Regions from separate parts of the Homo sapiens genome. Here regions 1, 3, 4, 5, 6 and 7 are each linked to region 2. Evidence: promoter capture Hi-C in 16 types of primary human blood cells and fetal thymus (Javierre and others, 2016). All regions are on one chromosome and are shown on one strand. The core of a region is centred on a gene start or on the middle of the fragment in contact, and the rest is flanking DNA. Distances in the headings are between cores, read along the strand shown.

Evidence for each region. Contacts are between HindIII fragments. The CHiCAGO score rates a contact against its expected background, and 5 or more counts as called.
Region 1: a contact is called between a fragment that was not itself captured here and the fragment with the promoter of BRD7 in region 2, in 16 of 17 cell types (neutrophils, monocytes, M2 macrophages and 13 more). The highest score is 34.2, in neutrophils.
Region 3: a fragment that was not itself captured here is called in contact with the fragment with the promoter of BRD7 in region 2 in 16 of 17 cell types (total CD4 T cells, non-activated CD4 T cells, activated CD4 T cells and 13 more); the score reaches 61.6 in total CD4 T cells.
Region 4: a fragment that was not itself captured here is called in contact with the fragment with the promoter of BRD7 in region 2 in 13 of 17 cell types (neutrophils, naive CD8 T cells, activated CD4 T cells and 10 more); the score reaches 21.1 in neutrophils.
Region 5: a contact is called between a fragment that was not itself captured here and the fragment with the promoter of BRD7 in region 2, in 2 of 17 cell types (neutrophils and monocytes). The highest score is 10.9, in neutrophils.
Region 6: a contact is called between a fragment that was not itself captured here and the fragment with the promoter of BRD7 in region 2, in 16 of 17 cell types (naive CD8 T cells, naive CD4 T cells, total CD8 T cells and 13 more). The highest score is 56.3, in naive CD8 T cells.
Region 7: a contact is called between a fragment that was not itself captured here and the fragment with the promoter of BRD7 in region 2, in 17 of 17 cell types (activated CD4 T cells, naive CD4 T cells, naive CD8 T cells and 14 more). The highest score is 68.0, in activated CD4 T cells.

What each region holds. Positions count from the first base shown.
Region 1 is chr16:50,011,622-50,015,326 of GRCh38, reverse strand. No RefSeq gene overlaps it. Among named protein-coding and RNA genes, the nearest start is that of CNEP1R1, 12 kb to the left of the region's middle. The HindIII fragment of the contact is 3,211 bases long and covers 311-3,521 here.
Region 2 is chr16:50,367,465-50,371,186 of GRCh38, reverse strand. BRD7 (bromodomain containing 7) reads left to right here and starts at 2,199. Exons shown (of 17, transcript NM_013263.5): 1 at 2,199-2,461; 2 at 2,889-3,097. The coding sequence starts at 2,413. RefSeq lists silencers at 2,021-2,270, 2,301-2,810. The HindIII fragment of the contact is 8,339 bases long and covers 1,291-3,722 here.
Region 3 is chr16:50,767,403-50,771,030 of GRCh38, reverse strand. The region is part of intron 5 of CYLD (CYLD lysine 63 deubiquitinase); the gene reads right to left. Among named protein-coding and RNA genes, the nearest start is that of CYLD-AS1, 26 kb to the right of the region's middle. The HindIII fragment of the contact is 2,515 bases long and covers 27-2,541 here.
Region 4 is chr16:50,031,309-50,034,987 of GRCh38, reverse strand. It overlaps CNEP1R1 (CTD nuclear envelope phosphatase 1 regulatory subunit 1), which reads right to left. Exons shown (of 6, transcript NM_001281789.2): 4 at 1,482-1,591; 5 at 832-886. Among named protein-coding and RNA genes, the nearest start is that of CNEP1R1, 7.9 kb to the right of the region's middle. The HindIII fragment of the contact is 870 bases long and covers 1,417-2,286 here.
Region 5 is chr16:49,992,853-49,996,300 of GRCh38, reverse strand. No RefSeq gene overlaps it. Among named protein-coding and RNA genes, the nearest start is that of CNEP1R1, 31 kb to the left of the region's middle. The HindIII fragment of the contact is 5,462 bases long and covers 1-3,448 here.
Region 6 is chr16:50,732,052-50,735,503 of GRCh38, reverse strand. NOD2 (nucleotide binding oligomerization domain containing 2) reads right to left here. Exons shown (of 12, transcript NM_001370466.1): 12 at 2,429-3,452. CYLD-AS1 (CYLD antisense RNA 1) reads left to right here. Exons shown (of 7, transcript NR_184279.1): 4 at 3,144-3,286. Among named protein-coding and RNA genes, the nearest start is that of CYLD, 8.3 kb to the left of the region's middle. RefSeq lists a silencer at 1,692-1,986. The HindIII fragment of the contact is 5,332 bases long and covers 1-3,452 here.
Region 7 is chr16:50,748,934-50,752,530 of GRCh38, reverse strand. It overlaps CYLD (CYLD lysine 63 deubiquitinase), which reads right to left. Exons shown (of 19, transcript NM_001378743.1): 3 at 2,329-2,955; 4 at 625-927. The coding sequence starts at 2,832. Among named protein-coding and RNA genes, the nearest start is that of CYLD-AS1, 8.0 kb to the right of the region's middle. The HindIII fragment of the contact is 1,396 bases long and covers 655-2,050 here.

The DNA of each region.
Region 1 (3,705 bases), core at 667-3,166, 360 kb after region 2:
GTCTGGATCTCCTGACCTTGTGATCCTCCTGCTTCGGCCTCCCAAAGTGCTGGGATTTCAGGCCTGAGCCACCGCGCCTGGCCTTGCTAAAGGTTTCTTACTTGGTCAGACTCTCTTACACCCTCAGTTTCTGGAAAATGTATCAAAAAGGCTTTACTAAAATGTGTCAAATTGCAACAAATGTTACCTATTCTTTCTTCACTTAGAGACAACTTGTTTAGCCCAATAGGCTCAGAAACAATTGGGGAAATTGTAATATTGGTGATATAAGATACATCTTTGCTAATGTTTTTTGAAAAATAGAAAAGCTTTTTATCTTATCACATATCTTAAATATATTTTCATCAAAACCTCAAAGGAGTCAATTTAGTTCATTTGATTTGGAGACACTATTCACCGTTTTCTTTAATGCACAAAGCCAGTTCTTATTGTCAAACTGATCAGTAAAATCAGACTTAATTTCTCTCAGAAACTTTACTTCACTTTTCAATGCAAATCCCTGTGAAAACTCAACATGTTTGTAAAAATTGTTTGTATTCAAAGCAATGCTTTACTCATTTTTTTTTTTTTTTAGACAGAGTCTCACTCTGTCACCCAGGCTGGAGGGCAGTGGTTCAATCTTGGCTCACTGTGACCTCCATCTCCCAGGTTCAAGCGATTCTCCTGCCTCAGCCTCCCAAGTAGCTGGGATTACAGGCACACGCCACCATGCCCAGCTTATTTTTGTATTTTTAGTAGAGATGGGGTTTCGCCATGTTGGCCAGGCTGGTCTCCAACTCCTGACCTCAGGTGATCCGCCTGCCTTGGCCTCCCAATGTGCTGGGATTACAGGCATGAGTCACCACACCAGACGTTTTTCTTCAGACAGGGTCGCATTCTGTCACCCAGACTGGAATTTAGTGAATTTAGTGGTGCGATCACAGCTCACTTCAGCCTCAGCCTCCTGGGCTCAAGGGATTCTCTTGCCTCAGGCTCCCAAGTGGCTGGGACCACAGGCGGGTGCCACCACACCTGGCTAATTTCTAAATTATCTGTAGAGACGGGGCCTGCCTTTGTTGCCCAGGCTGGTCTCAAACTCCTGGGCTCCGGCCATCTTTGCCATGACCTCCCAAAGTGCTGGGATTACAGGCATGAGCCACCATGTCCAGCCAGTGCTTCACTCTTAACTGAGAATCTAAACAGGACAAGAAAGCCAAGAGTGCAGGATGGATTTATTGCTCATGGTTTGAGGAGACTTCAAGCGTGTCCTTATTTTGAATAAGATGTCCTTCTTGTTCCTGCAGCCAGTGCTGTCTTCCATGCACCTGGGCACCGCCCCATTGTAACTCAGCGGGGCGAGAGGTGGGCCTTTCTTCTGTAGACTGGGGTTAAGGGCGATGGTGAAGCAGGGGAGGGAAGGAGGACCAGGTCTTGAAGCAGGACAACTGGGAATTCTTGCCCTCGAGAGTCTCCCTCCCTTCTTCCTCAGTCTGGGGGTCAGAGGAGGCTTCTTAGAGGACATGGGGCTCAAGTTGATTCTCCCCAGACCTGCTCTTTATCCATGGTCACCATTTTAGTAAATGGCCCCGTGTCCACCCACTATTTGCTCAGGCAAGAACTGGGGATCATCCTTGAGTCCCCTTCTTAATCTCACATCCATTACCCAATCCATCAGCTCTGTCACCTTACTTCCAGAATGGATCCCAAATCCAGTCATCTCTCACCCTTACCATGGTCACCCAAGTCCTGGCCATCAACACAGTTGCCTGGAAGGTTGCAAGCGTCTCATCGCTATCTCCCTGCTTCACCTCTTGCTCTCCTTCTGGTCCTCCTTGGTACAGTAACCAGAGAGGGCCTGTCCCTCCTTATCTAACACCTCCTCATTGCTTTCCTTTGCACTTAAAATAAAATCTGAGGAATATTCCACCTTGTAGGGTGACCAACTTGTCCCAGGCAAACCACGACAGTTGGGCGCCCTACACAAGACCCTGTAGGCTTGGACATTGCCTACCTCTGCAGATGCTTCTCACAGGTCTCCCCCACCCACATCCCACCTCTACCCTCACTCCCCGCACTCTCCCAGGCTTACTTGGCTCCAGCCCCATTGGATCCTTCAAAGAGCCATGCTTGTTTTAGGATTTTTGCATTTGCTACCTCTTCTCACTGGAACTCTCCTGCCCTGGCTTGCTCTTGCAATGTCAGGCTTCAGCTCAATGCCCTTTCTGCAAAGAGGACTTGGATCACTCCAGCTTAAGTACTTCTCTTTTTCTCTTTCTCTCTCTCTCTCTTTTTTTCTTTTTTTTTTTGAGACAGAGTCTTGCTCTGTTGCCAGTCAGAAGTGCAGTGGTGCAATCTTGGCTCGCTGCAACCTCCACCTCCTGGGTTCAAGCGATTCTCCTGTCTCAGCTTCCTGAGTAGCTGGGATTACAGGCACGTGCCACCATGCCCGGCTCATTTTTGTATTTTTAGTAGAGATGGGGTTTCACCTTGTTGGCCAGGTTGGTCTTGAACTCATGACCTCAAGTGATCCACCCACCTCAGCCTCCCAAAGTGCTGGGATTACACCCCTCCCCCAGCCATAAGTATTCCTCTGCCATCACCATCTGGACCACTGCATCCTGCTTACTCGCTGTGCAGTTTGAAGCTCTCTGTGCTTTACTTTCTTACCCGTGACTGAGGCAGGTGCTGTCCTCAAAGAACTGCAGAAGGGATCCTGTGAGATAATTCTTGCCAAGCCCTTGGATCACTGCTGGAACATAGAAAGTGCTCCATACATATGGTCATAATTACCCTGTTCTGTTTTCTTTCTAGCACCTGTCAATATGTGACAATTGTATTTATTGATATTTCTTCCATGTTTATTGTCTGTCTCTCCAACTAGAATGTGAGCTGCATTAGGGCAAAGACCTATTTTGCTTTCCTCAGTGACTATAACCATGCCTGACACATATCAGGAACTCAAGGTGTGCGTTCAGAGAATGAAACTTAATGGTTGCGCAGCACTGTGAATGTACATGTACCACTGAATTGCATGTGTAAAAATGGCTAAAATGTTGAAATTATGCTATATATGTATTTTAAGGTTGTGTATATTTACCCCCATGAAAAAGCACACTGATGTCCCATAATAAATATTTAACAACTTTCCTAGGTTAAAGCAAAGTGAAAGAAGCTAAGTCTGGGTACTCTTGGAGGAATTAGCTGCTCAGAGAGGGCGCAGCCTGGCCTTGTGGCTTTCTGGGACTCGTTTTACATAACACCCCTTCTCTTCATGACCTCTCATTGGTGTGCACACCTTCCTGAGGAGGTCAGGGGAGGTGGGGACTGGAAATCCCAGGAGACCCTGCCAAGGCTGAAGTGCTCTGTCCAGGTGTGTCCACAGCAGGCGGAGCTCCACACATCTGGTGTTGTCACTCTTCCACTGTGGTGTCTTTGCAGCTGATCAGTGCTGTGCCAGTTGACAGCTGTGTGATCTCAGGCAAGTTACGCAACCCTCCTGTGCTTCAGTTCTTCCTCTGTGGAGTGAAATAGCAAGAGAAGCTTTCTCATAGGATGACTGTGAGGATTGAATGGATAGTGTCTGCAAAGTGTTTAGAAAAGTGCCTGGCCTACACCCACAAGTGCTATATAAATATTAGCTATTATTATTAATATTTTTGGCCTGGAGTTGGTGGTTCATACCTGTAATCCCAGCACTTTGTGAGGCTGAGGCAGGAGGATTGCTTG
Region 2 (3,722 bases), core at 950-3,449:
TGTCACATGGGCTTCTCCAGCATGGCAGCTTACTTCATCAAAACATGCAAGCCAAGAAGGCAAGAGAGACGGTCAGCAAGTAAGACTGAAGTCTTATGTATCCTCAACACAGGAGTGACGTCCATCATCTTTGCCATATTCTATTGCTCTGAAGCCAGTCTCCAGGCCATTCTACACTCACTGGGAGGTCATGAATGGCAGCAGGCAGAAATCTCTCAGGGGAGTCTGCCCGAACCAGGACCGTGCAGCTCAACTAGCATTTTCTGGTGCCTTCTATGTGCCAGGCATGGTATTAGTGCTGAGAATTTAAAACTAGATGAATTTGGGCTTCCACTTCCAGGAACATTTTTCTGGGAGGTGTTTTCTGCTACGTACTCTTATTCACTTTCCATTGATGTGACCACTTTGTGACCTATGTAGAATCACTCTTGAGAGGGTAGGGAAATTACTAACTTGATAGTATGGATGAGTTCACCAGACCTTTTTCCTCTGAGGGGCATTTGGACAGTAGTAGTCACTGTGCTAGGCACTGTAAGTACCAAGGAGGTACCCAGGGTAATGAGGAGCAGACAGGTAAACCCACAGGTTGAGCCTGGAGCAAGGCAATGCCACAATAGAGGCCAGACCCACAGTGGGAGTTGGCATAGTGGTTCTTAAAGCAAAATAAGTTACAGACAGTGGATGAAAAGCTGAAACCAAGCTTTGCCCTATGCTTAGGGGGCCTAGGGGGCCTAGCTGGCTTGATTTCAGAGCAGCAGAAGGTCTCTTCCCCAACACAACCCCTCTTCCCACACCCTGATCTCTGCCTCACGGACACCAGAGAGGCTTGTTACAGGGAAATAATAGACACACACTTTTAGCTTTCATGAAAAAGCAACTCTCTTCATTAGAAGAACCTCATCTTCCCTGGCTAACCATAGAAGTCTGGCAGGAGCTGCCAATCACAGACTCCACTTCTCTTGGCCAAGGGGGTGAGGGGGTAGATTTGGCATCCAGGCCGAATCAATCTCCCATCCCCTGTCCCATAAAACATGTGACACAAGCCAAGCCAATCAGAGTCCTTCCCTGGGACTGTTTTCCAGGTGAAGCTGACAGGAAGAGATCTTTTTCCCAGTTGGTCAGGACACTATAAAGAAGAGGCCTCAGAAGCAGATGGTGGCCATGTTTCCAGCCATATAGGAAAGAAGGGGGGAGATGGAGACCGATATACAGAGAGACAAGAGAGAGAGCGAGCTGGCATGCCAGTCAACAGCATTACATCCTTGGTTCCTGTCTTCCCTCTGGCAAGCTTTATTCTTGCCCTTTCTAGACATGTAAACCAATAAATCCCTTTTTATTTACTTGAAATAATTCAAATTGGTTTCTATTAGTTGCCAACAATAGGGTCCTAAAATATAAGCCTATAATTTCACCACTGAAGTTCAAGGTAAAGCTACAAATCTTCCTGGGAGAGGTGATTCATGGGTCTAAATTGTTACTAAAGTATAAATGACTGATAACAGATCCTTTCTTAAGAGGAGACTATAATTACGAGCTTATCTGAAAACAGACAAAGCACCATACAGCTAGAAGTAAAGACAGTCAAAACGTCTGGTAACCTTCACCTATCAGCACATAAGTTTTTTTTAAGATTAGAATCTTCAGTCACCAATGTGCTGAGTTTGCTGGGTCTGGCACCCAGTATGGGGTTCAGTCAATATCGTAAAAGGGAAGAAACAGAAGCAAGGGAAAGTGGAAAGAAAGGAAGAGTGGGGGAAGGAGGAAGGGGAAAAAAAGAAAAGAAAAAAAGAGGGAAGGAGACGGGAAGAGGAGAAGGAAGGGTGATGAGGGAGGAAGAAAAGAGAGAAGGAAGGCTTGAAGGGAGGCAGTAAGGAGGGAAGAAAGAAAGGAAGGAAGGAGGAAGGAAGGGAAGAAGGGAAAGAGAAAGAAAGAGAGGGAGGGAGTAAAAAGAAGGGAGGGAAGTGGAGACGGAGGGAGAGACACACAGAGACAGAGACAAGACAGACAAATTGAGGGGAAAGGGAGGAAGGAAGAAAGACGAGAGTCTGAGCGGTGGATCCCGCCCCGGCCCCGCCCTCGGCCCCGCCCCCGGCCCGCGAGCTGCAGCACCACCTCCGGTCGCCAGGGGCCGCCACCCGCAGCCGCCGGCACCCTGTGCGCGCGGCGGGCCTTCTTTCCCGCCTCTGCGCCGGCCGCGCGCCCCCCCCGCCGCCGCTCTCGGGCTCCGGCCGGGTCTCGCGCGCCGTCTTCTCGAGAGGGGCATCGCGCCGCCCGGCGCGCGCCGCCCCCCTGCCTCGCGGCGCGGGGTCTCGCGGGCCCCGCTCCCGCCCTCCGCTCGCCTGGCCCGGACCGGAAGCGGCGCCGCACGGCCTGGGCCTGGCGCGGGGGGCGGGCACCGGGGCCCGGTCGGACATGGGCAAGAAGCACAAGAAGCACAAGTCGGACAAACACCTCTACGAGGGTGAGGAGGGGGCCGGGGTGCGGGCGGCGGGCCCTCGGCGGCTCTGCCGGGCTTCCGCTCTTTCCCAGTGGCTCCGGGGCGGCCCGGGGCCCTTCCTTCCCACGGCAGGCCCAGGCCGGCGAAGGGGGCGCGTCCTGCCGGAGGCCGCGCTGCCCCCCGTGCGGCCGCGGCATTCGAACCCGGGTCCCCCTGGTCCGGTGGGTCTCTGGTGGGGAGACGTGAGGCGGGCCCGGGAGGCCTGGGAGCGTTCGGGGCGGGCGGCGCCGCCGCACCCCCGGGCCGGGGTCCGTCATTCAACAGGTGCTTCGCGGAGCGCCCAAAGCCGCCTCGGGCTTGCTGCGCCTTGGCGCTCTGCATCCTTAGCACTCCCTGGAGAGCCCCGATTTTAATCGACGCGCTTTCCTTTCTTTTCTTTTCTTTTTTTAAGAGTATGTAGAGAAGCCCTTGAAGCTGGTCCTCAAAGTAGGAGGGAACGAAGTCACCGAACTCTCCACGGGCAGCTCGGGGCACGACTCCAGCCTCTTCGAAGACAAAAACGATCATGACAAACACAAGGACAGAAAGCGGAAAAAGAGAAAGAAAGGAGAGAAGCAGATTCCAGGGGAAGAAAAGGGGAGAAAACGGAGAAGAGTTAAGGTACAAGTGGTTACATTGCTTTGGCTTTGCGGACGGCACTGCCTCTTCCAGGTGCCAACCTCATTTTATTTTCTTTGTATCTGGGGAAAACAAACGCCTCTAAGATCTGGCTCGTTTGAGGAGGAGCAGGACAGAATAGAGACATGAATCATCTATGAGTTTCAGCAAGTCGTTTTTGGATTATACTCTTAGGCAATTGTACTCGCACATCAGGTGAGGAAGCAGCTAAGTCCAAATTTTGAGGAGCTGCTTCAAAGAATGGTTTTTCCATCTAGGCAGGGTAAAAAGTCATGCTCAAGAAAGCCTCAGTGTTCAAGGATTGTCAAAAATAGTCATTTCAGAAGCGAGTGGGATCTACTGGGGTTTAAAGTTTGTTCTGAAATAAATATTATAATGCCAAATCTGTAATGAGCAACTTTAAATCTTTTAAAACAGTGTTGTAGTGTGTTGAGAAAATTTGGTCAGAAACCTGTAATGGAGATTGATATTCTTAACCATTTGCATTTAACAGAAAAGAATGAGTAGCTACCATCTTGGTTTGAAAGCTGGGCAAAATAATAATTAATGGCTGGGCCCAGTAGCCCACACTTGTAATCCCAACACTTTGGAATGCCGAGGTGGGAGG
Region 3 (3,628 bases), core at 35-2,534, 400 kb before region 2:
AAGTTGTCGAACTTGACACAAAAGCTTGACCCACACAAGAAAAACTATAAATTGGACTTCATAAAAATAAAAATCTTGTACTCTGTGAAAGACCCTATTAAGAGGATGAAAAGACAAGCTACACATTGGGAAATAAAATGTGCAAACCATATATTGAACAAAGAATTAGTATCTAGAATACATAAAGACTTCTCAAAACTCAACAGTAAAAAAGCACAGGATCCAATGAGAACCTGGGCAAAAGAGATGAGGACACCTTTCACTCAAGAATATATACGAAGGCTGGGTGCAGGGGCTCATGCCTGTAATCCCAGCACTTTGGGAAGCCGAGGCAGGTGGATCACTTGAGGTCAGGAGTTCGAGACCAGCCTGGCCAACATGGTGAAACCCTCTCTCTACTAAGAACACAAAAATTAGCTGGGCTCGGGGGCGCACACCTGTAATCCCAGCTACTTGGGAGGCTGAGGCAGGAGAATCACTTGAACCCAGGAGGTGGAGGTTACAGTGAGCCGAGATCACGCCACTATACTCCAGCCTGGGTGAACAGAGCAAGACTCCATCTCAAAAAAAAAAAAAAGAAAGAAAGAAAAAGAATATATACAGATGACAGTGAGTACACGGAACGATGTTCAACATCAGCAGCCATCAGGTAAATTCAAATCAAAATCACAGTGAAATACAACTACAAATCTCTCTGAATGGCTAAAATTAAAAATAGGGACAACATCAAATGCTGGAAAGGATACAGAGAAACCAGATTACCCATATATTGCCAGTGGTAAAGTAAGAGTACAGTCACTCTGGAAAACAGTTTAGCGGTTTCTTAAGAAACTAAATTTGCAAATATCACCGAATACGCACTTGGACAATTATGTCAAGAAATAAAGATTTATGTGCACTCAGGAAACTACACACAAATATTTATAAAAGCATTATTCATAATAGCCAAAAACTGGAAACAAACCAGATGTCCTTCAACAGCTAAACAGTTAAACAAACTGATACATCCATAATATGGAATATTACTCAGGAATAAACAGGAACAATCCATGGATATATATAAAATAATGTAGATAAATCTCCAGAGAATTATGCTCAGTGAAAAAAGAGCCAGTCTCAAAAGGTTACATACTGTACAACTCCATTTATGTAACATTCTTGAAATGACTGAATTACAGAAATCGACAGCAGATGAGTGGTTGTCAGAGGTTAAGGATGGGGCAGGAGGAAGAGGGAATTTGTGCGGCAGTAAAAGGGCAAGATAAGAGATCTTTGTGGGATGGGAATGTTCTGCTTCTTGATTGTATCAGGGTCAACATTCTGGTTGTGATGTTGCACACGTCTTGTTTTACAACATGTTAATGTTACCGCTGGGAAAAATTGGCTAAAGGGCACACAGGGTCCCTCTCTCTGCATGTGAATCTATAATAATCTGAAATGCTGTAAAGCATATATCTGCAAAAGGGTTTGTATTCAAAATTTATAAATAACTCTCAAAACCCAATCATAAAGAAACAATTAATAATCGGCCAAAGACTTTCACAGATACTAAACCAAAGAAGATATACAGATGACAAATATGCACATGGAAAGATGTTTGATATCACTGGTCACCAATGAAGCGCAGAGTAAAACCACAATTAGATGTTACTAAAATTTAAAAAACTGATCATACCAAGTGTTGGCAAAGATATGGAAGAACTGTATCTCTCATATACTGCTTCTGGGAATGTAAAATAATGCAACCACTTTGGAAACACAGCTTGGAAGGTTTGGGGGTTTTATTTAAGTTAACAGTCACCTATGATATTACCAGCCATTCCACATCTAGGTAAGTACCCAAGTGAAATGAAGGCATATGTCCATACAAAGATTCGTACACAAATTTTCATAGCAGCATTATTCATAATAGCCAAAAACTGAAAAAAACTCAAGTGTCCATCAACAAGTGAATGGATATAGAAACTAATATAACCATATCAACAATAAAAAGGACAACATGGATGAATAAAAAATAATTATGTCGAGTGAAATAAGCCAGACAAAAAAGAATGCATTCTGAGTTATTCCACTTTTGTAAAATCCTTAAAAATGTGAACAAGTGTATACTGATGTAAAGAAGACCAGTGGTTGTCTGAATGTAGGGGGTTGAGAGGACAGGAAGAGGCAGAGGGAGGGATCCCAAGGGACATATTTTGGGGTGATGGATATGTTCACTATCTTGATCGTAGAGATCGTCAAAAAAACAGCATTATACTCCCAACCCCCACAACTAGAACAGAAGACACAGGTTGAACTAGAAAAACCGAAATGTATAATTTTGGGGTGGTGCTAATTGATATGCTTCATCATAACAACTTCAAGAACATGAACATAATGTCAAATTAGATATGTTAGCAGTGTTTTTAACCATTTAGAACAGAAATATAAGAGAGAAACAATTTTATAACAGGTTTAAGATTCCTGCATCTTTCAATCAAAGGTATCCTTCAGAAGCCAACTATTACAAGCAATTGACTAGAAAGAATTCTTTCCTAAGCTTCCCAGCCATTCAACTGCTCTGAAAAGAATCTTTTTTCTTTTTTAAATGCTGTAAATATTAATTTTGTTTCACGGATGAAGGTAATTGGGCAAGAAAAAGAAACTAAGGAACTAAAGGAGACACTTTGACTTTTTTTTCCCCTCAAGAAAAGAGTCCTAATGATGACATGAAAGGCAGATGAAGACTCATTTAAGTAAACTAAATTAATTTTCATTTAAACAACTTTAGTTTTTAAAGTCTATTTGCAAGCTTTATTTTGTTGACAAATAAGTGTAATTTATGTATTATGTTATAAATGCTGGTATCATTCTTAATTATCTCCTATTGAGGGTTTATGAAAATCAAGCTTTAAAAGAAAAAAAAATATCATTCTTTTTCTTTCTCTTCACTGCTCTGAGCCAGCAATAATGACAATGATAACTACTGATTTAGAAGATCAAAGTGTGCCTGACAAGTGACGCCCAAGATATTCATGTAACTAATTTTAATTATCTCAATCCTCCACCAATATTTTAATAAAACAAAACCGTAAATGTTTTTAAGATAAATACTACTAATGAAGAATTCCTTGTCAGGTTATATTCCAGGAAAAATAGAAAGGGTGGTTTTTTTCTTTGCTTTGCTTTTTAAGTGCTACTGTAGAACCCAAGATAATTTACATTTCAAACCAAATTGAGATGTGGAAAAAATAGACAGAAGGAAATACAGCTCTAGAGTGTGTGTGTGGGAGAAAGCACTTCAAGTATTTATTCTACAGCCAACTGAGAAAAACAATCAATTATACATAAGCCAACTTCATAGTTCAGGTATCTCAATCTTAAATTATAATACTAAACTAATGATTTCCCTAGTCTCCTAACTTATTCAGTATAATGAATTGCATTCAGTTGTAAAATGTAAAATTCAAAGAAATGCAATTAAGGTAGGTAAAGAGAACGGTTACTTTCAATCTAAAATGCTTTTTTTTTTAATTATTTTTTGAGCTTTCAAAAGTACTCTATGGAAATTAAAAAAAAAAAAAATTGAAACCCACAAACCCACACAGGCACACCCTGGAGATATTGTAGGTTCTGTTCCAGACCACCA
Region 4 (3,679 bases), core at 602-3,101, 340 kb after region 2:
AAATAAGCAAATCAAAATAGAAGCTACCTATCAAAATTGTGAGACACCCTTATTACACACTGGTACATGATAGTTTTTAATTTACTTAAAGACAGGGTCTCACTGTCGTCCAGGCTAGACTGCAGTGGTATGATCACAGCTCACTGCAGCCTCAAATTCCTGGGCTCAAGCAATCCTCCTGCCTCAGCCTCCCAAGCAGCTGGGACTACAGGTGTGCACCACCTGCCTGGCTAATTTTTACATTTTTTTGTAGAGATGGGGTCTTGCTAATGTTGCCCAGGCTGGTCTCAAACTCCTGGACTCAAGAGATCCTCCTGCCTCAGCTTCCCAAAATGCTGGGATTAGAGGCATGAGCCACCATGCCCAGTCTCCCATCATCTACTTTTAAAAACACAATAGGTTCATATGTCCATAGTCCACAAATTAATCTATGACTCTATATTTACAAATAACATATATAGCATATCACTTGATAAATAACAGTAGTTTATAAAACCAATATCCGCTGAGCCATTTTTGGTCAATAACAAACAACCACTGTACTTCACTGAATCTAAGATGCATCAGTTATAAGATGCATCATGATTTTATGTCATTAAGAAAGATTAAATTGTCAACTCTCCCAATTTGTCAGATCTCATTGACTGTAAGATGGATCTCAATGCCAAAGATGTTAAATGTAAAAGTACCTTAGAATCAATGCTCTAAGTATATTCTCACTATTCATTCCACAGAGAAAATTTATTGCTAATAAAATGTCTACCTTTCTAAAGCCAAAAATTTCAGTGTTTTCATGCAGGTCTATAATTTTCTAACCAAAAAAATACTTACATCATCACAAGACATATTGTATTCTGCTAATACCGTTCGACATCGAGCAGCTATACTGAATACATGTGGTCAAAGGAAAATTTCTCATTTCAAGAGTATGCTTTTAGGCCGGGTGCGGTGGCTCAAGCCTGTAATCCCAGCACTTTGGGAGGCCGAGGCGGTCGGATCACAAGGTCAGGAGATCGAGACCATCCTGGCTAATCCGAGATCGCGCCACTGCACTCCAGCCTGGGCGACAGAGCAAGACTCTGTCTCAAAAAAAAAACACAAAGCGTACTCTTTTTTTTTTTTTTGAGACGCAGTCTTGCTCTGTCGCCCAGGCTGGAGTGCAGTGGCGTGATTTCAGCTCACTGCAACCTCTGCCTCCCGGGTTCAAGCGATTCTCCCACCTCAGCCTCCCGAGTAGCTGGGACTACAGGCACAGACCACCACACCTGGCTAATTTTTTGTATTTTAGTAGAGATGGGGTTTCACCATGTTGCCCAGGCTGGTCTCAAACTCCTGAGCTCAGGAAATCCACCCACCTCAGCCTCCCAAAGTGCTGGGATTACAGGCGTGAGCCACCACGCCCGGCAAGAGTAAGCTTTTAACCATTACCTAGATCAACAAAGCACTTCAGAGAATGGAATTTAATCCTTGGTAAAGGATACATTGATGGTGCAACTACTCTCTTGTGTATTCCAGCAAAGAACAAGCCTATTAGAGTGATACAGCTAATGGTGAAAAATGGGTGATTCCATAATGATGTGAAGAAGGACACCTGTAAAAGAAGAGATGAAAATATAAAAATGTTAAAAATCTTAGGATGGCTGATTCCTACCTCCCCACTTGTACATAAATATATATAATATTTTTTATCATATAAACCATGAGGATTTGAAGACTTCTAATAATCTTAGTTCTCTGTATTGCTGCGTTGTAAAAATAAAAATGTATAGGCTATCTTCTATAAAGCAAGATAAATATAGCAGTATTCCCTCCATTCATTTCAAATACTTGAACTATTACAAATTCATTCCTATAATCAAAAAACAACCCTATCAAAAATATTTACTGAACTCTGCATTGAATGAGTGAAGATGAGGCCTCTGGTCTCAATGAAAACACAAATCAAACTTGATTTAGTTACCTTCCCTGTTTTTTTTTTTTTTGAGACAGAGTTTCACTCTTGTCACCCAGGCTGGAGTGCAATGACACATTCTCAGGTCACTGCAACCTCCACCTCCAGGATTCAAGCAATTCTCCTGCCTCACCCTCCCAAGTAGCTGGGATTACAGGCGCCCACCACCACACCCGGCTAATTTTTGTACTTTTAGTAGAGACGGGGTTTCACTATGTTGGCCAGGCTGGTCTTGAACTCTTGACCTCAGGTGATCTGCCCGCCTCGGCCTCCCAAAGTGCTGGGATTACAGGCGTGAACCACCACGCTCAGCCTACCTTTACTGTTAAAAAGCTTCCTTAAAAGAGTTGAGCAAACTCTGCCATTCATAACCTGATCCCAGTCTAATTTTCATCTCCTGCCATATTTCCACACATATGCTGCCTTGTTCACCTCTCTCCCTCCACCTGGCTAACTCTTACATATCCTCATAACACTCAATTCCAGCATCACCCCTTCCTCCCTGCAGAGGCAAAAAACAAATTTGGTTTTGAAGCTACTGAGATCTAAATGACCACAGGACATTCAAGTAGGGAAAAACGATTAGTAGCTATCCATAAAGAACTAGAACGAAGGAGAAAGAAAGGGCTGATTTCAGATCTGGACATATCAAATGATAGCAGAAAACAGGACAATCCACAAGTCTAAGAATATGTAGAGGGACAAGGGTCCAGGATCCATGACTGGAATAAGAATAGGCACCGAAATGGAAACGTTGACTGGAGACACAGAGAAGACAAGCATTTAGAGCCTGTGTAGAAAGAAATCAAGTGGATTAGTAACTAGATGGGAGCAAGAGAATCAAGTTAAGCACATCCCCACTCCACTCTCACAGCAGGAGACGCGCAGGCACGTGTTTCAAGACAGAAGCACCAGGTAGATGGCTCAGCATGGTACTGGTTACAGAAGTTTGTCAGATGAAGAAATGAGAGGCTGAAAATACCAGGAAAGAAGCTCCCAGAAAGATGATGACCCAAGGAAAAGTTAATATTCCAGAAGAACGTCTTCTTCAAACCTCCGAGGAGTTTCTCATAAGCCAGCTCTGTTGTGTGTGGCCTGCACCAGGTTAGCATATACAGTGCTTTATGTCTTCATTTTAATTAGGCCATCAGTTTCAGCCTTCCTCCCTCCATGGCAACACTCCAATGCATTGAAACAGCAGTTCTCTCCAGGCCAGGCAGTCAGGTACTTCCTGTCTGCCATATTCTTTCTCTCCCTAGGTTCTTCTACCTAGCCACTGCTCCTGAGTTTGCAACTCTTGCTACAGATACAATTGCTGGTTAAAACTCCTGTCAGGTTTGGGGTTATTAAATACTGAAATATAAAGAGCCAACCCTTAGGCGAATAGTTATATTCTCACCTAATTTAGAAAATTATATTAACTACATAGTTTTGGGCCTATTTCAAATTACATTTAATTCTGTGTTTTATTAAGATCTCAACTAGCTGAGATCAGCTTATATTTTTCCCAATTAGAAGTCAGACTCATTTCCCAAGATGGATCTTTTTCAATCTTCTTGCCAGCCTCTTTCCACTCTTCCCCTAAAGATGACTACCAAGTGCAGCCTTAAGATCAGATTTTTATAAATGAACACACAAGAGAGTTTCCTGTCTGCCATAAAAATCCTCTATTAACATAAAATTCCATCACCAATCTCCCCTTGCTTCCTATCCTTTTAAATATCTCCA
Region 5 (3,448 bases), core at 393-2,892, 370 kb after region 2:
TTGTATTGGGGATGGAGAGTATTTCCTGAACTAGGTGTTTGTCATGCTGGGATCTTCCCACCAGTGCCCTCCAGCTGCTTCAGTGCTTCTTCCAGTCAGGGGAGGGGAGTATCAGGCTCACAGGGTCAAAGAGGCTCCCAGAGCCAGGCTGCTCGTCCTGGCCACGTCCCTCTTACAGTTCTTGCCCAGATATGGGGGAATGGAGTCTTAGTTCTACGGGGACAAAGAGGCTCCTGTAGCAGTCTGCTTGCTCCTTGTGGCTGGGTGCCTCCTGCCAGTTCCTCCTGTCTGCTTTGGCACCTCTTGGCAGGGGAGAGGACTCTTGGGCCCAGCTAATGCTCACCCTGGCTGCTTAGTGTTGGTGGGACTTCCAATCTGTCCCCCTGCTGGTAGTGTTGGACTACCCTGATGTTGTCAGAGGTCCTGTTCAATTTGGGGGAGAAATGACCATATCTGGGCTGGTTTCTGTAACAACAGTGTGGGTTGGGAAATGCCAGGTCTGGATTGGGTTTGGGGGGAACATAAGATGCCCTCCTGCTTTGTTGTTCTTCCAGTCTTGGGGACCCAGACCAGTTTGCCTTCTTCTTACTGTCTTTCAGAGTTCTCTCTTGGTTGCCTTTTGCATTGCTTCCAGGGTTTATAGTTTTGCTTTGAGGGGAGGAGCAGGGAGAAACTGTTCTGTGCCACCTTGACCCACCAGGTACTTTGAGCACTGGCGCAGTGGTGAAGTTCCAGGGTACCCATTCCTGGATTCATGTCTCTCAGCTGGAATAACACAGAGTTTCATCCTCTGCCAATTAGACAGCCATTGGAAGATGCTCAGAGTCCTTTAGAAACAGACAGTAACAGGAAGAAAAACAGCTACACGAGACTATGAGATCAAGTAGATGACATGCGAAATAGACAGCTTCTGCTCCAAATTCCAAATCAAAACCTCACCTTGCTTTTCTTTTTTTTGCCTTTTAAATCTTCTTTGATATAGTCTAGTTACTCTGCTCTCCATTCTTTGCTCATTTACTTGAATATAAAGAAGGAGATAATTTTTTTTAAGAGATAGGGTTTCACCCTGTCACCCAGGCTGGAGTGCAGTGGTGCAATCATAGTTCACTGCAGCCTTGAACTCCTGGGCTTAAGCGATCCTCCTGTCTCAGCCTCTCAAGTAGCTGGGACTACAGGTGCACATCACCACATTTGGCTAATTTTTTAATTTTTTGTAGAGACAGGGTCTTAATATGTTGCCCAGATTGGTCTCAAGCTCTTGGCCTCAAGTGATCTTCCTGGCTTGACCTCCCAAAGTGCTGGGATTACAGATGTGAGCTACAGTGCCTGGCCAATAATTGCTTTTGTTAACTTTTTTTTCTAGATTTATGAATTTTGTTGCTTATTTCTGGGTATGATATTAATAGGTGGTTATATATGGCTCATTCAATAGTCAATGTTCAAAGGAAAAAATGATTGCTATGTATGTTTCCAGCTTTGTAGGCTGGTCACCTCATTATTCCCCATTCCATATCCTGAACAAGTGGAACACCCTTTCAGAGACAAGAACATGGGAAAAAGCCTTCCTTAAAAACTTTTCTGAAAATTGCTATAATCATAGACCCAAGGAACAGCCTAATTCACCTTATGATGTGGTTCCCAAGAAAGGAGAAAGAAAGTGTCTAGGAAGACTAGACCCAATCTTGAGACCCAAAGGTGAGACTGGCAAGGGCAGGAGAAGTCACATGTAGTTCTCTGTGCTGGAAGGAAAGTTCCACTGGATATAACCAGCCAATCCATGCTGCCTGCTTCTCCTTGGTTCCTCTTCTTTCTTTAGCTCAGAAGAAGGAACTCCTTATTTTCCAAGTAATCCCAGCATGGAGAATTTAAGATGGCTGTAAATTCTTTAACATTCCTTATATCACAGGGTCTAAGACCCCTTCTCTTGAATGAGGGTTCTCTTTGCTATTGCTTGGATCTATAGAATACAGCAAAAATGATGCTGTGTGTAGTAAGATAAGGCTGTAAACCAGTAAGAACTGATTCTTTTGCTTTAGGGAATTCATCCAAGCCAATTTATCTGGACAGTTTGCTGAACGAGCTCTCCCATCTGGGTAACAGATTGCTCATCTGGGAAAACAGCTTGCCTATCAAACAGCAGTTTCACTGATTGAGACTGGTTTTAAGACCCTTGCCTTGATGTGTTCACCAATCCTAAAGTATCATGTCATGAAATGTGCCCAATCCCAATCAATTTCTGTCTTGAAAGACCTTCTTTGAACCACTTGAGCCCAGATCCCAATAATATACATTTCCTTTCCTCGCCTTCCCCTTTCTAAAATACTATGAAGATTGTCAAGATGGTGGTCTCCATGACTGCAGAACATCTAACAAAGTTAGCTTTGCTTGATGGCTTGTTTTTTGGTTTTTTGATGGTCTTTTGAGGAGCTGACAGGCTATGAGGTAAGCATTGTTTTGTAAAACTTGAGTTTCAGTTTTATACTGATGTGTCTGTGTCTGTGTGTGTACTGAGAAATGATGTAAAATGAATCTCAGCTGTGGGTGATAAGCTGTGTTGTTTCATTGTTGTCTTCTCATACTAGAATGTAAGCTGATGACCACAGAAATTTTATCCTCTCCGCCATACCCCCAATGTTTTGAACAATTTCTGGCACACAAATGTCTTTCTCTCTCTCTCTCTCTCTTTTTTTTCTTTGAGATGGAGTTTCACTCTTATTGCCCAGGCTGGAGTCCAATGGCATGATCTCGATTCACTGCAACCTCTGCCTCCCAGGTTCAAGCAATTCTTCTGCCTCAGCCTCCTGTGTAGCTGGGAATACAGGCACCTGCCCCCATGCCCAGCTGAATTCTGTATTTTTGGTAGAGATAGGGTTTTGCCATGTTGGCCAGGCTGGTCTCGAACTCCTGACCTCAGGTGATCCACCCGCCTCGGCCTCCCAAAGTGCTGGGATTACAGGCATGAATAACCACCACATCTGGCTTCTTTTTTTTTTTTTTTGAGACAGGGTCTTACTCTGTCACCCAGGCTGGAGTAGTGAGGCAATCCTAGCTCACTGCAGCCTTGACTTCTGCAGCCCCTGCACCCCTACCACCTCACAAAGGGGGAGTTTGGGGAGGCCCAGGGGCACCTCAGATCCTCAGTTTTCCTACTCCTTGTGGGCCTCAGTTTCCCTAGATGAGAAACGGGCATGTTGACCCCAGAACTCAGGGAGATCCAGCAGCTGCTCAGGGTCCCTCCGGCCTCCCCTGCGGCCTGCGGGCTTGTCCGCTTGATTTCCCATCTTGGCACGTGCTCCCCACGTGTAGGCTGGTGCCATCTGGGTCAGCCCTTGGGAGAATGTGGCTGCCTCCATTCCTAACCTCCTTCAATATTTATGGAGGCAGTGAATTTGGGGATTATACCCGGCTTCTGGAGTCAGACCTAGATGTGAATCTGGTTGGACCACTG
Region 6 (3,452 bases), core at 677-3,176, 360 kb before region 2:
CTTGACTGTGGCCAGTGAGACCTTTCCTGAACTGGTCCTACCTACCTCTGCAAACCCATCTAGTGACACCTTTCCCTTAGCTTGCCTCCAACATAGTGTATTAGTTTCCTATGGCTGCTGCAGGAAATGACACAAATTATCCCCTTATAGTCGTGGAAGCCAGAAGTCCAAAATGGGCTGGAGCCAAGGCAGGCAGGGCTATGCTGCTTGCAGAGGTTCTAGGGGAGAATCTATTTCTTGGTCTTCTTTGGCTTCTAGAGCTGCAATCCTTGGCTCATGGCGCCTTCCTCCACCTTCAGAGCCAGCAGTGTAGCATCTTACTTGGTGATCACATTTCTTTCTTCTCCAGTGTCATATTTCCCTTTGCTTTACATTGTCCTTTAAATTTCTCTTATAAGGAAACTGCGATTGCATTTAAGACCCACCCAGGTAATCCAAGATGATCTTCCCATCTCAAGACCCTTAACTGAATCCCACCTCCAAAGTCCCTTTTGCCAGGTAAGGCAACATTCCCAGGTCCCGGGGATTAGGATCTACATATGTTCGGGAGTGACTATTGAGCCTACCATGCATACCACGCTCCTTCCCTCACCAGGGTCTTTGTACCTCTTGTCCCCCATTACTAGAATGCTCCCTTCTTCCCTCTCACTCTTTGCTTGGCCATATCTTTCTCATTCTTGGGGACACAGCTTACCTGGCACCTCCTCAGACAACCTGTCTCGGACCAGCCCCTTAACAGCCTGAAGACTTTTTTTTTTTTTTTTTTGATACGGAGTCTTGCTCTGTTGCCCAGGCTAGAGTGCAGTAGTGTGATCTCAGCTCACTGCAACCTCTGCCTCCCGGGTTCAAGCAGTTCTCCTGCTTCAACCTCCCAAGTAGCTGGGATTACAGGCACCTGCTACCATGCCCGGCTAATTTTTGTATTTTTAGTAGAGACAGGGTTTCACCATGTTGGCCAGGCTGGTCTCGAACTCCCGACCGCAAGTGATCTGCCCACCTTGGCCTCCCAAAGTGCTGAGATTACAGGCATGAGCCACAGTGCCTGGATGAAGACTTTTTCATGTCTTTTTCAACTGACTTGTTTTCTGCCTGCCTCTCCCTCCACCCTCACCTAAGCACCTTGAGGACCATGTCTGTTTTGTCAATCCACTGGTCATCCTAATATAACTGGTTAATAAATCATTGCTGAATTTATTTATTTATTTATTTATGACAGTCTCGCTGTGTCGCCCAGGCTGGAGTGCAGTGGCATGATCTCAGCTCACTGCAACCTCCTCCTCCAAGATTCAAGCGATTCTCCTGCCTCTGCTTCCCAAGTAGCTGGGATTACAGGCGTGCGCTGCCACACCCAGCTAACTTTTTTTTTTCTTCTTCTATTTTTAGAGACAGGGTTTTGCCATGTTGGCCAGGCTGGTCTTGAACTTCTGACCTCAAGTGATCCAGCTGCCTCAGCCTCCCAAAGTGCTGAGATTACAGGCATGAGCCACCATGCCTGGCCTCATTGCTGAATGAATTTAAAGATGACAAACTGACAACCCAATACAGTGCTATGCAAATGGGCTGCTGTGTGTACTCCTCAGCGAAAGGAGACTCAACACCACCTTCCTCCTGATCTGCTGTATCAGAAACAATGGTCTGGGCAGAACAGGGCACCAATCACAAAGAAAACCCATAGACACACTCCCATGCAGGGTCCAGGGAGATGCCACACCACCGAGTCAGCCAGACGCAAAACCTTTCAAGGAAGTAGGATTTTACCTTGCTGGGTGACCACCTGATCCCTTGCTTATTAAACGCAGCTAAGCACTATTTTAACACAAGGCCTGCATGAGAGGCTGCTCGCTGTGGAGAGCCAGCCATAAGTAAACCTTCTCCATCCTTCTGTTAAAGACTCCTGGAGCCACTTTGAGGGAATCGAGGGGGGCCAAGGGGCCTTTTCACATGTGTTGCAGCCTTTTAGGCTGGGTACGGGGAGGCTCCTGCACAGCTGAAAACTTCACGGGGTTAAACTTTTCTAAACTGAAGCCAAAAGTGTTTTGATTGCCTGGCTATTTTCTAAGAATTGCTTTTGCCTTAAGCTATACATTATCGGGTTGAAAACATCATTTTCCTCCGCTTCAAGTAGAAAATTGTGCTTTAAAATTTGACAAGTTTTAGTAATATTTTTATTTTTTATTTTCTTTATTTATTTGAGATGGAGTTCCACTCTTGTTGCCCAGGCTGGAGGACAACGGTGTGATCTTGGCTCACTGCAACCTCCACTATTTTTAGTAGAGACAGGGTTTCTCCATGTTGGTCAGGTTGGTCTCAAACCCCCAACCTCAGGTGATCTGCCCACCTCGGCCTCCCAAAGTGCTGGGATTACAGGCGTGAGCCACTGTGCCCAGCCAGAATATTTTTAAATGTTTGGTCACAAGGAAGATGGCTGTTTTGACTCAACAGTTTATTCCCCTCTGATTATTTACAGCATAAAGTTCACGGCCATGTTGTCTATAAGAGTATAAACTTAAGACAGTAAAACAAAGTGACCTATAAATATTAACCAGTTTTCACACATCATAATGTTTAAAATAATAACATTTGCACAGCATCTGACAATTTACAAAGGCTTCAACATACATCATTTTGAATAATCCAGGAAGACATTTGCTTTGAAGGAACGGCCTAATTTTTTTTCCTGTAAACTTTCAATCCATAACTGTACATCCTAAAGCATTCTGGCACAAATGAAATGGAACTGCCTCTTGTGGGTCTATTTCAGAAGTCTGTTGTCAGAGTTCAGTTCACAGGCATCAACCAGAAGCCTAGTGAGGCCGTTTGAAATTCTGGCCCAGATTAATTTTTTAAAGCTGCATTTGGAGCTTTTTAAAGTCGAGCTGTTTCCAAAGGCTTAACTGAAGAGTAACTGATTTCACTGGAAATAAAAGTCCACATGTGATCCCAGCTGGAGTGTGGTCATATTTTTCTTGCAAACCTAGAATGTCTTGGGGAACAAACGGCTGTCACGTGTCCCCTTCCAAAAATGTCTTAAACACCGGAAAGGAGGGCAGGCTAAGGTGTAGCCCTTCCCACCCTGGGTGCCAGGGTTGGGGGTGCTGTAAGTGAAATATCAAAGCTGAGGTCACTAATATTCTGAATTTCAGCCTCAGAGGAAGGAGCGTGTGCAGGAGTCCAGGAGGAGGGGAGGAACCAGAGACGGGGAATGGCCTGGATGGATGAGTCGAGACATGGGGAAAGCTGCTTCCTGAATTATGTGTTCTGTGTACTCCTCTTCATCAGAGCAGTGGTAAGGGGTCTTTTGTGAGAGGCCGGGCCTCTCCACCAAAAGGCACTCAGTTAACAAGCACATCCATGGGCCCCACTGACCCACACGGAAGCCTGGGAGGATCAGCAGAGGCCAGTCCCATACTATGGAGGAGGGGCTGTCCTTGTACATCCTGGGATTGAATCTT
Region 7 (3,597 bases), core at 103-2,602, 380 kb before region 2:
TTATGTATATTTTACCACAATTAAAAAAGGTTTTTAAAATGAATGAAATCCTATGAGATATTCTGATTGTCTATTCCTCAAAATCAATGTGGTTTTCCTCTACTCAGGTATTTTCTATAAATGATTATTATACTAATTATTAAAATCAGATCAGCCATTAAATTGTGTAGAATATCACAAAAAAATGGAGTACCCCAAAAAACTGTTTCAAAATAAAGAAAAATAGGACTTCAAGTAATATAATTGTGTTTTGTCTTGTTTTGTTTTGTCTACTGGTCAGCTACAATAAGGCAAATTTAAAGATAGAGAACATTATTCTAGTTTATTCAAATGGGAAAAAAAAGTAAATGTAATCTGTATCTAGACCCCTGTTCTATTTCAATGCTCCTTTACCAAAGATAAATTAGAACATGTTCTTTAAAGTACTCCAAATTAGATCATGTTAAATATTCAAAGTGTTCAATTTGCAAGTAAATTGGTCCTAAAACTAATACATATATATATAAACTATACATATATATGTGTGTATATATATGTGTGTATATATATGTTTATATATATATATACATATATATATAAACTAATATATATATCACAAAGATATTTAATCCAAAATTTTCTTACCATGTCCACACCAACAAAATATCCTAAGCTTTCTTTTCCTGGCAAAACATCACAGAATATAACTGTTCCAGATTCTATTGTTTCTCCAACCTTCAAAGAAACTCTGGAGTTTATTTCCAAAGGAGGAAGTTCGACCTGCATTGTGTCCCCAGGACCTGCGTAATCACTTTCCAATGCAGTGTCATCATCTTCTATGAGTTCTAGCTTGTCCAATGCAACAAACACGCCACAATCTTCATCACACTGAAAAAGCTGTTTCCCTTGGTACACCCCGTCAGTGAAACCTTGACCACGACCTTCTTCCTAGTTTTTAAGAGAGAAGGGAAAGAAATAGATATAGAAAGACGATCCATAGGAAAAGGGGTTCACTCTAGGGATTTCAGGAAAATCACTCTGGAAAATTTCTAAATGATACATATAATAAGAAATACAATTATTAGCAGTTTCTGTTGGATTTAGAGTGTTTTAAAAAATAAGAAGTTGTATCTGATGCTGAAATAATATTATCTGATAATTTCAATTCATAACTCTATCATGAGAAAGCTAGGCTGAATTCCACGTTGTGATTCTAACATTAATTTGGTTATAAAAAGAAAATGTTACTTTAAAATAGCAGTAATGTTAGCTCCATTCATTAAGCACTTATTGTCAGTCACTGTGCTTAAATCCTGCATCAATGTACCACAAAAACACTACAAGTCATGTACTATTAACACCATTGTACAGGTAAGGATGCAGAATGAGAGAAGTTAAGTAGCTTTGTTAAGTAACCTGGCAACCCAGCTAGTAAATGGCTTAACTGGGATTCAAATTCCTAATTGTTTACAATCACTGCTTTTAAAAAAAATTAAATCAAGAAGCAAAGAAGACATGCAATTCTATTGGCAAGAGTGTCAAAATGTAATTGGCATTTCAGTTCTTGTGAATGAATATTAAGTTTGGAAACATATCACAGCATTCTTGGGTCTCCTTCCGGTAGAAATAAATTCTAAGGATTTTCACATATATTATCGGGGACAATTATAAGCAAGTTTAAATTTCTGCAACTTTTTTTTCAAAAATCTTATATCTAAATTGTTATTTAATAACATACATTAAGAAGAACTAAGAAACCTATAGATGATAACGCAAGGTAATTAACAATTTTTTATGTAACTATTTACAACTGGTAGCGTTCATGTTTAATACAGGCAATGTTAAAATTTCTAAAATATATATGTCTGCAATAGCCAGGTGAATCTCTTTGTATGTTCCTACCATAGTACATAGTTTTTTAAGTTTCGACATCATCTTTACATCTTCGCAATTCATCATTAAAAAGTAAACAAAAGAAATTAAATCAAGAAGCAAAGAAGGCATACAATTCTATTTGCAAGAATGTCAAAATATAATTGACATTTAAGTTCTCAAGAATGAATATTAAGCTTGGAAACATATCACAGAGTTCTTGGGTCTCTTTCCAACAGAAATAAACGCCAAGGTGATTTTCACACATATTATCAGTGACAACTATAAGCAAGTTTTGGATTATGGATTCAACCACAACATGGATTCATCAGCAAGGATGATGAATATTAAAAATTACAGAAGACTCTTGGGAAAATTTATTTCGTATTTAAGGAGAAAAATATGTATGTGCATACAAATACACAGACACACATGAACACAAACAAACACACTACTAAAATGGTTTATCAAACTTACCAGCAATTCAACTCCAAAGAATATTCCGGAGACTGTCCTCTCTGCTAACAGGGGTCCTCTGAAGCGTACAACTCCAGGAAATTTTTCTTCCCCAGATCTCAGCTGTACTTTCACAGGACAGCCCACGTCTATTTGGAGGCCTTTACTTAGTCTGTTTCTGTTTTTAAACAGGCTGAACCTCTCCTCACAATTGGTAATTGCCAAAAGTAACTCTGTGAACTTTTCATTTATCTCTACAACATCCTTTTCATCAACAAAGAGAACTGCATGAGGTTGCTCTAGAATTTTTAATCCAATCTGATTTTTCTTGCCTTTTGCAGAAGGAATCCTTGAATGCCCCACAGAACGATCTTGAATATACTGTCCTATACTTCCCTTCGGTACTTTAAGGAGCTTTTGTGTTTGTTTGTCTGTAACGCTGCATTCTTGAAGAAGCAAGTAAAAAATCCGCTCTTCCCAGTAGGGTGAAGTGACTTTTTCTTGGCTCCATAAGCCTGAACTCATTGTGATATTAACTTCAAAATACTAATTCAAAAAAGGGAAACTACTAATAACTTTGTCATAAAACCGCAAAAGATAAATTCAGTGGCAGTCCCAAAGCATGTTTTCAGCAACGTGGTGTCCATGCTGTAAAAAGAAAGGAAATCAAAATGCCTAGTGAAAAAGCAAAAATAAACTTTAGACTTCATTCTACATGACTGAAAATTAAGACTGAAGACTTTTAAAATTTTCATTTGACCAGTAAACACATACACACAAATGAAATATTTTCAAAAAATATCTAAAAGGGCTAAAAGACATACATACTGTATTACTTTTATCTACTGTAACTGTGCATATTTAATTAATGAAATCCAATTGTAAAGTACTTTCAAAGACAACACAATGTTTGCTTCCAAGACACTGAAATTTATAAAATCAGATTCTAGTAAAAACTTTTAAAGATTACCCTTATATACATATTCTAACTTTTTTTAATTTATTTTTATTTATTTGTTTTGAGACAGGGTCTCACTCTTGTTGCCCATGCTGGACTGCAGTGGCACAATCACAGTTCACTGTGGCCAAGACCTTCCAGGCTCAAGTGATCCTCCTACCTCAGCCTCCCGAGTAACTGGTATTATAGACGCATATCACCACACACAGCTAAGCTTTCTATTTTTTGTAGAGACAGGGTCTCACTATGTTGCCTAAGCTGGTCTTGAACTCCTGGGCTCAAACAATCCTCCTGTCTTGGCCTCCCAACGCACTGGGATTACAGTCGTAAGC